Regions from separate parts of the Homo sapiens genome. Here regions 1 and 2 are each linked to region 3. Evidence: promoter capture Hi-C in human tissues and cell types (Jung and others, 2019). All regions are on one chromosome and are shown on one strand. Each heading gives the region's core, a stretch centred on a gene start or on the middle of the fragment in contact. The rest is flanking DNA. Distances are from core to core; before and after follow the strand shown.

What was found. The method cuts DNA at HindIII sites, captures the fragments that hold promoters and counts their contacts. A contact is called where the count stands out against the background at its distance.
Region 1: a contact is called between a fragment that was not itself captured here and the fragment with the promoter of GBP6 in region 3, in 1 of the 25 tissues and cell types used here (dorsolateral prefrontal cortex).
Region 2: a fragment that was not itself captured here is called in contact with the fragment with the promoter of GBP6 in region 3 in 4 of the 25 tissues and cell types used here (H1 embryonic stem cells, hippocampus, liver and 1 more).

What each region holds. Positions count from the first base shown.
Region 1 is chr1:89,405,232-89,408,643 of GRCh38, forward strand. It overlaps the pseudogene GBP1P1. Among named protein-coding and RNA genes, the nearest start is that of GBP6, 43 kb to the left of the region's middle. The HindIII fragment of the contact is 3,111 bases long and covers 1-3,098 here.
Region 2 is chr1:89,317,936-89,321,313 of GRCh38, forward strand. No RefSeq gene overlaps it. Among named protein-coding and RNA genes, the nearest start is that of GBP6, 44 kb to the right of the region's middle. The HindIII fragment of the contact is 5,448 bases long and covers 1-3,378 here.
Region 3 is chr1:89,362,197-89,365,437 of GRCh38, forward strand. GBP6 (guanylate binding protein family member 6) reads left to right here and starts at 1,863. Exons shown (of 11, transcript NM_198460.3): 1 at 1,863-1,931. The HindIII fragment of the contact is 7,719 bases long and covers 1-3,241 here.

The DNA.
Region 1 (3,412 bases), core at 293-2,792, 43 kb after region 3:
TCCCAGCCTCCTTAGCACTGTCAGGAGAAAACCGCCTACTCAAACCTCAGTAATGGTGGACGACCCTCCCCCAACCAGGTTCAATTGTCCCAGGTCAACTTCAGACTGCTGTGCTGGCAGTGAGAATTTCAAGCCAGTGTTTCTTAGCTTGCTGGGCTCCGTAGGAGTGGGACCCGCTGAGCAAGACAACTTGGCTCCCTGGCTTCAGCCCCCTTTCCATGAGAATGAATGATTCTGTCTTGCTGGGATTCCACCACTAGGGGAAAAAAAAAAATTCCTGCAGCCAGCTCGGTGTCTTCTCAAACAGCTGCCCAGTTTTGTGCTTGAAACCCCAGGGTCCTGGTGGTATAGGCACGAGGGAATATCCTGGTCTGCAGATTGCAAAAACCACACGGAAAAGCGTAGTATCTGGGTGGGTAGCACAGTCCCTCAGGGCTCCCCTTGGCTGGGGGAGGGAGGTCCCTGGCTCCTTGCACTTCGCAGGTGAGTCAATGCCCCACCCTGCTTCTGCTCGCTCTCTGTGAGCTGCACCACTGCCTAACCAGTCTCAATGAGATGAACAGGGTACCTCAGTCGGAAATGCAGAAGACTACACCCACTGCCTAACCAGTCCCAATGAGATGAACAGGGTACCTCAGTTGGAAACACAGAAATCACTTGCCTTCTGCATTGGTCTCACTGGTAGCTGCAGACCGGAGCTATTCCTATTCAGCCATCGTGCCAGATCTAAGACATGTTAAGCATTTTTTTATATACTTGTTAGCCAGTTGTATCTCTTCTTTTGAGAAATGTCTATTCAGATATTTTGCCCATTTTTTAATAAGAGTATTTGTTTGTTTGTTTTTGAGTTGAGACTCTTGTATATTCTGAACATTAGTCCTTTGTAAGTTGAATAGCTTGCAAATACATTATCCCATTACGCAGGATGACTCTCCATTCTGTTGGTTTTTTTCCTTTGCTGCACAAAAGCCTTTTAATTTAACAGTCTCATTTGTCTATTTTTGCTTTTGTTGAGTGTGCTATTGAAGTTTTACCCATCAAATTGTTGCCTGGACAGATGTCTGCAAGTGTTTTCCCTATGTTTTCCTCCAGTAGTTTTATTGTTTGGGGTCTTACATTTAAATACTTAATCCATTCTGAATTGATATATGGCATATTAATATCCACGTTTCCCAGCACCAATTGTAAACATACATTCCCCAATGTATATTACTGGTCTCTGTGTCAAAAATGAGGCAACTTAAAATATGTGAATTTATTTCTGAATTCTCTATTCTGTTCCATTGGTCTATGTGTCTGTTTTTACTGTCAGGTCATTTTTTATAAAACTAAAACTCAACCCACTTCACATAAGTGACATGAAAGGAAATTCTTCATGGGTAAAAGTTTGAAGTCTTCCAATGTGCAATCTTGGGCTACATATTTCAGTGTTCAGTGCTCCACTCTTCCACTCCTCTCCAGGCCTTTGCTTTTAAGCTTTGAGTGCAAGTCATTCTTACCCTCTAGAGTAAGTCCAGTTAAGGGCAGTGGCTGTGTTTAATTCATCTTCATACACTTCTCAGCACCTAGTACAGTGCTGTGCATGCAGTATATTTGCTCTCTATACACACATGTACAGATGGTTGATTGTTTTTCTAGCTTGCAGGTCTTGCTTCCATTTGATATGAGACTCAGTAACCCCAGCTGAATCACTGAATCCCTCTTGCTATGAACTCTACAGCCGGCTGCATAGAGCTCTTTGTGTGAAAATAAGCTTATTATCAAAACATTCCACACCTGAAATTCAGTCTGTTCATTGGATGCTAATATCAAGACAATCTTTGAAATCACTAGGCATATACACATTAATTATTGCATCATGTAATAATACTAAATTGTGAATTAATTTTATCTGTGACTATCTACTAGAAGGATTCCATAGACTGCAAACCAAGTGAACTGAAAAGTGAGGAAATGATGCTTCCTCATCCCCACCATCTAAATGAAAAATTCCCTACTTATTTTTTTCCAGCTGTCTGACTTTTTATGTCAGACAATGTGTTAAATATGCCCTTTCCTTATTTACCGCACCTCTAAAAGAATAGGCAGCTCCATTGTGAGTGTGTCTATTATTTTAGGAAATTATAGCTGAAAATTAACATGATGCCTCCTCATTCTAGGATTCTCAAACTGACTCAATCCATGAGACATGTATCATTGTATTCAAAACCTAATGGGCATTTTGTTAGACAACAAATGGTCTCTAAGATTTCCAACAAAAAACTTTGAAGCTTCTGGTTGAGCAATCATTAAACCCTCCCACTGGCACACTCCAGTAATTTCATTTATGGTAGTGGACTTGAATGAAGTACTTTCAGTTTCATATTACTCTAAATCCATTACAAATATGCTTAACCTTTAAATATTTCATCACTGAAGAAATCCCAGCCCTACAACGTTGGAACAGTAAAATATTAGTCCAAGGATCCAGTGAGAGACACAGAAGTGCTAGAAGCCACTCCTCATGAACTAAGGAGAAAAAGAACAGGTAAGAACTTTTACTACTTCTCATTAAGCAGCTTTCTCTTTAGCTCCAAAGGATCTCAGCTCAGGGATATGGAACCCATAAGGTTGTGGCAGGGATGGGAAGGAATTTATAAAGGTCAGTTCATTTTCTTAAACATCGTCAGAACCAAATTAGGCTGCAGATGAGCCTGAAGTGGGACGCAGGTCAGATGAAATCCTGGTGTTATCAGGGACAGCATGGCCTTAAGTGACACTACAGTGTTTGTGTTGAATTAGGCACCAGTAGACAGGGGCTAAACTGAGAGTTTGAAATGCACTAGGATAGTCTTTCTCTTTGTTGTCATTCTCTGTGTTGACTGGAGACATGATTACATTTCCATTATCAGTGATGGAGCTTGCTGAATCCTGCTCCTATGCAGCTAAGAAATGGAAAGAGCTACAAATGGGTTCTTTTCATAAGGAAAGAACAGCAAATGAGAAGCAGAGTAATCAGCCCACTGACATGGTTAAAGACAAAGAAAAAACTGAAACTCAGCCTGAAAGATGAAGATTCATGAAAACAGTATACTTTTTATTACACTTGTGAACTTCGTTTCAGAATGGATTACTTTCTTTAGAAATAGTCCAGACTCACTAATTTCCTAGTGCCCACTGATCCCTGTCCCTTAGAAGTGAAATTCAACCCCACTGCTTCACTAAAGTGCTTCCAATTTTGTCTTCTTTTAGTAGAGACTGGGGCCTAAAGTGTTTCCTCTTTAATTCTCCTGTAATGCATCTCTAGAGAAAATATCTTTGCTTATTTTAACCTCTCTATGCAATCAGACTACTTTAATCCTGCCTTCTGGAAAGTCCTCGCCTGAATTCCTTGTCAAGACACTAGCCTCATTCATCACCTTCTGGTCTGATA
Region 2 (3,378 bases), core at 702-3,201, 44 kb before region 3:
CAGCATGAGAACTTCGTGAAGCATACACGAGTATCAATAGATGAATCAATCAAGCGGAAGAAAGGATAGAAGAGATTAAAGATCAACTTACTGAAAAAAGGCATGAAGATAAGATTAGAAAAAAAAGAATGGGAAGGAATGAACAAAGCCTCCAAGTAATATGGGACTATGTCAAAAGACCAAGCCTACAATTGATTGGGGTCCCTGAAAGTGATGGGGAGAATGCAACGAAGTTCAAAAACATACTTCAGGATATTATCCAGGAGAACTTCCCCAACCTAGCAAGACAAGTCAACATTCAAATTCAGGAAATACAGAGAACTTCACTAAGATACTCCTTGAGAAGAGTAACCCCAAGACACATAATCATCAGATTCTCCAAGGTTGAAATGAAGGAAAAATGTTGAGGGCTGCTAGAGAGAAAGGTCAGGTTACCTACAAAAGGAAGCTCATCAGACTAATAGCAGATCTCTCTGCAGAAACCCTACAAGCCCGAAGACAGTGGGGGTCAATATTCAACATTCTTAAATAGAAGAATTTTCAACCCAGAATTTCATATCCAGCCAAACTAAGCTTCATAAGCAAAGGAGAAATAAAATTCTTTACAGACAAGCAAATGCTGAGGGATTTTGTCACCACCAGGCCTGCCTTACAAGAGCTCCTGAAGGAAGCACTAAATATGGAAAGGAAAAACTGATACCAGCCACACCAAAAACAGACCAAAATATAAAGACCAATGACACTAGGAAGAAACTGCATCAACAAATGTGCAAAATAACTAGCTAGCATCATGATGACAGGATCAAATTCACACATAACAATGTTAACCTTAAATGTAAATGGGCCAAATGACCCAATTAAAAGACACAGACTGACAAATTGAATAAAAAGTCAAGATCCATTGGTGTGCTGTATTCAGAAGACCCATCTCATGTGCAGTCACACATAGGCTCAAAATAAAGGAATGAAGGAATATTTACCAAGCAAATGGAAATAAAAGAAAAAAAAAGCAGGGGTTGCAATGACAGTCATGATGAATGATCTTTCAAATTTGATGTTGAATTTGCTTTGCTGGTATTTTGTTGAGGATATTTGTATCAATATTAACCAGAGATATTAGCCTGTTGTTTTCTTTTTTTGATGTTTCTTTGCTTTTGGCATCAGGGTAATACCGGCCTTGTAGAATAAGTTTCATAGTATTCCCTCTCCTTCTTTTTTGGGGGAATAGTTTGAGTTGGATTGGTATTCTTTTTTAAATGTCTGGTAGAGTTCAGCATTGAGACCATTGGGTCCTGGGCTTTTCTTTGCTGGGAGACTTTTTATTATGGCTTTGATGTCATTACTTTTTATTGCTCTATTTAGGCTTCAGATTTCTTAATGGTTCAATCTTGGTAGGTTGTGTATGTCTAGGAATTTATCCACTTCTTTTAGGTTTTCCAATTTGTGGACATACAGTTGTTCATAGTAGTCCAGTGATTCTTTACATTTCTGCAGTATAAGTTGTAATGTCTCCTTTTTCATCTCTGATTTTATTTATTTGGGTCTTCTGTCTTTATCAGTTAGTCTGGCTAAAAGTTTGCCAATTTTCATTATCTTTTCAAAAAACCAACTTTTCTTTTTGATGACATTTAGTATTGCTTTTCTCATTTCAATTTCTTTTTTTTTCCTGCTCAGATCATTATTATGTCTTTTCTTCTACTAATGTTAGGTTTGGTTTGCTCTTGCTTTTCTAGTTCCTTAAGATGCATCATTAGATTATTTGAAGTATTGCTCCCTCTTTGTTGTAGGTGCTTATTGCTATAAACTTTCCTCTTAGTACCACTTTTGCTTATCCCATAAGTTTTGGTATGTTTTCTTTCCATTTGCATTTGTTTCAGGAATTCTTAAATTTGATTCTTGTTTTTTGACCCACTGGTCATTCAGGAGCAAATTGATTAATTTCCAAATGTTTGTGTTCCTTTTAAGTTTTCTCATATGCTTGATTTCTAGTTTTATTCCATTGTGGTCAGAGAAGATACTTGATATGTGTCAAGTATCATATTTACCTTTTTTGTATTTTTCAGACTGATTTTGTGGCTTAAAGTATAGTCTATACTTGAGGATGATCTATTTCCTGAGCAGAAGAACGTGTATTTTTCAACCCTTGGATGAAATAATCTGTAAATATCTATTAGGTCTTTTGGTCTATAGTATAGATTAGGTCTGATATTTTCTTTGTAATTTTTGTTTGGCTGATCTGTCCAATGCTGAAGGTGAGGTGTTGAAATCTCCAGCTGTTATTATACTGTGGTCTGTCTCTCTCTTTTGAACTAATAATATTTGCTTTATATATCTAGATGCTCCAGTATTGGGTGCATATATATTTACAATGGTTATATCCTCTTGCTATATTAATCCCTTTTACTCGTTACATAGTGACATTCTTTGTCTTTTTTATAGTTTTTATCTTGAAATGCTTTTATCTGATATAAGTATAGCTACTCCTGCTCTTTTTTTGGTTTCCATTGGCATGGAATGTCTTTTTCCTTCTTCTTATTTTCAGTTTGTGTGTGTCTTTATAGGTGAAGTGTGTTTCTTGTAGGCAACAGATCACTGGATTCTGTTTTTTTAATCCATTCGGCCTCTCTGTGTCTTTTGATTGGAGAGTATAGTCCATTTGCATTCAATGTTATTGTTGCTAAATAACAACTTACTCCTGCCATTTGGTTTTGTTTTCTGGTTGTTTGTGGTCTTCTCTTTCTTCTCTTCTTCCTTCATGTCTTTCTTTTTGTGAAAGTGATTTTCTTGTTGGTATGTTTTAAGTTCTTGCTCTATACATTTTTTGTGTATCTGTTGTAGGTTTTTTGATTTGTGGTTACCACAAGGCTTGCAACTAATATCTTGTAACTCATTATTTTACACTGATGACAGTTAAACTCTAATTGCTAAAATCTACAAAAAAAAACTGACAAGCAAAGAGAAAACTAATAACATTCAACACTTTAACTTCATCCTCTCTGCTTTTCAACTATTCGTTGTTTCTATTTATATCTTATTATACTATGTCTTAAAAAGTTGTTGTGGTTATTATTTTCGATAAATTTGTCTTTTACTCTTCCTATGCAAGGTATGAGTAGTTTACATACCACAATTACAGTGTCATATTATTTTATATTTGTCGGTATACTCACTGTTACCAGTGAATTTTATGTACTCAGATGATTTTTTTTTTGCTCATTAACATGCTTTCCTTTCAGATTGAAGTACTCTCTTTAGCATTTCTTTTAGGACAGGTCTTATGTTGATGAACTACCTCAGCTTTTGTTTGCTGGAAAAGTCTTTACTTTTCCTCTATGTTTGAAGGATATTTTCACTGGTATGATATTCTAGGATAAAAGA
Region 3 (3,241 bases), core at 613-3,112:
TGGTGATGGATCAGAGCTCAAGTTTTTAAGGAGAACCTCAATTGATGTTTATGTGCAGCAAGTATTAAGAATCACTGGTTTAGTCTTATAACATCTAAAGGAGGCCTCCTACTAGACTCTTTACTTTAGACAAGCTCTGGTCTTTGACTTTTGGCCTCTTCATAAATGCCTTCCAAACTGAAGGTCACATTCCCTTGGTTGGCAAATGCTATTAGAAAAAAAACAGCTTCAATACTCCACTTAACTCTTTGGGCGTTCACCTTCCCTTGGAATTTGGTCTTTAAGATCATTCATGACAAATTAGTCAATTTTTAATATTGCTTTTGAAAATATTAAACATTTTTGAATCCAGAATTTTCCTTTTTTTTTGAGATGGAGTCTCGCTCTGTCGCCCAGGCTGGAGTGCAGTGGCACAATCTCGGCTCACTGCAAGCTCTGCCTCCCAGGTTCACACCATTCTCCTGCCTCAGTCTCCTGAGGAGCTGGGACTACAGGTGCCCGCCACCACACCCGGCTAATTTTTTTGTATTTCTAGTAGAGAGAGACAGGGTTTCCCCCTGTTAGCCAGGATGGTCTTGATCTCCTGACCTCGTGATCCGCCCGCCTCGGCCTCCCAAAGTGCTGGGATTACAGGAGTGAGCCACCGCACCTGGCCCAGAATTTTACATTTTTAACACAAGTCTTTGTCTGAATAGAGTATTCAGATTAGTCTACCACACTCCCCAAATCCTCAGCCTAAGTTATTGCCAAAACTCATGTCTGCTCATTCTGCCACTTGCTTCTGTTCTCAAATCCATTTAGCAGTGCAGCCATGGTAGACAGTCCCAGCATGCTGCTATGTCCTCTGTAGAGAGTCTTTCTCCTTTTCTCACTCAGATGTTTCTCCAAGCTGTGAAAGGGTGTCTATTTTGCCCAAGGGCAGCTTGTGAATTCAAAATAGTTAAAGTCCCTGGGGATAAGACTCAACCAATGGAAACTGTGGGTTGTTGGATAAATAGTCCACATCAAGGGTCCCAAACCCCCAGAGCATGGTCTGTTAGAAACTGGGCCACACAGGAGGTGAGTAGGGAGAGAGCACTAAGGCCTGAGACCTGCCTCCTGTCAGATCAGCAGCAGCATTAGATTCTCATAGGAGCTTGTACACTGTTATGCACTGCACATTCCACCTTCTATGTCCATGTATGCAGATTTTTTAGCTTCCACTTATGAGTAAGAATGTGGTATTTGACTTTCGGTTTCTGAGTTGTTTCACCTAAGATAATGAACTCCAGTTCCATCCATGTTGCTGTAAAAGACATGGTTCATTCTTTTTTTAAACCAGTAATATCTTTAGCTCTCTCTCTTTCTCTCTCTCTCTTCTGTGTGTGTGTGTGCATGTGTGAACACATTTAAAATATCAAAAGTTCTTCACTAACAAAAGACCCCAGAACTCAAGAATTCCCACTAAGAGAAAAATGCTTAAAATATTCTTGGTTTCTAAGGCTTTGCTTATGTGACTACTGTAGATTTCCTGTTTTTCTTGTGTGCCTAGGAAACTAAAGCCACCTGGGAACGGTATCAAGAAGAAAGCCTGTGAAGCCTTCTAAGATGGGAAAGACAAAAGAAAGCTGGCAGGATTGTGCTTGCTAAGGTGTGACTGTGCAGTATCTGTGGCTTTTTCTGACCTCCTCCCACCCCTGCACCCAACACCCATCCTCAAACTCACATCGGATGATTCAGGCATGGCTCTGCTAACACTTTATTAAAAGCATGGATTAATTTTACTTCCAAGTTTATTTTTACTGCACCATCCCATTTGTGGAAACAACTAGCTTACTCAGCTTTTTTTTCCTTTTATAAAGGAAAGAACAGAAAAGTAAAAGGAGGAAAGAAAACAAGAGGTGAGTGAGGCAACTGAAAACTGTTCTTGGACCTGCGGTGCTATAGAGCAGGTATGTTCACTTTCTTTTAAATGCAACTTAGTTCCTAACTCAAGACTTGGTTTCTGATTCAGAGTGGTAACTGAGGAATGGGCAGGAAGGGCAGGGTGCCTGCTGCCTGGCCTGCAGGAGTCTGTGGCTGGCTTTAGTTCTGGGGAAGCTCAGCTTCTCCACTTGAACCAGTGACAGCCGGGCACGCCGCGTCCCCCTGGATGTGCTGTTCCCTGATCATCAACTCAGGACAGCAGTGAGTGGCCTGGAATGAGCCCTGGTGGGCGCCTGCCTGGCTATCTCTCTCAGGTCCTGCGGCAAGCCCCAGAATGCAGAGAACAAGGAGCTTCCAGGCAATTATACCGGAAGGGAGAGTTTCTTGTCTATCTTTCTAGTGGTCACACTTAGGAAAGCTTCAGAATAAGAGCTCTATAAATCTCTATGTAGAAATAAACTTAGGCCCCACATCACTGGTCTTTATTACTTAAAAATAATTATATAGTCCAAACTCTGTGTGTGCGTGTGTGTGTGTGTGTGTGTATGTGTGTGTGGGGAGGGGGTGGGGGAGGAGGGGGGTGTTAGTTTCCCATAGGAACATCAGAGTCTCTTGTAGCTCTTGCTAAACAGATGGATACTTAGGCCTGGGAATCTGGGTTTGAACAATCCTCTCAGTTGATTCTTTAAAAAAAAAAAAGATGAAGAATAGACACTATGTTTAAAATAAAAAAGATTTTTTTAAAAACCACCATGTCCCATGGTGGTTTGCTGCACCTATCAATCCGTCATCTAGGTTTTAAGCCCCGCATGCATTAGGTATTTGTCCTAATGCTCTCCCTCCCCTTGCCCTCCACCCACTGACAGGCCCCAGTGTGTGAGTTTCCCACCCCCACCCCCAGCGCCAACCCCCCGCCGCCCGTGTCCACATGTTCTCATTGTTCAACTCCCACTTACCAGTTAGAACACGCAGTTTTTGGTTTTCTGTTCCTGTGTTAGTTTGCTGAGAATGGGATCTAATTAAAGAGCTTCTGCACAGCAAAAGAAACTATCATCAGAGTGATCAGGTGATTCTTATGTACATCAGAGTGTGAAAACCAGTCCTGAATAGGATTGAACAGCTGTATTTCATTTAGTAGAAGTTAAAAGGTCTGTGGTTCCCACACAGCTAAGAAACCAGAGACCTGGTTTATATAAAGTTGTTTGCAGGAGCAGCCACATCTTCCTAGAGCTGCCTTTATTGTTCACTTTAAAGAAGGGACTGTACAGTTGCAGTCACTGTAATGTGATGAACACGTTACACATCACATTACAATGCATTTCACTGTGGAAATCAG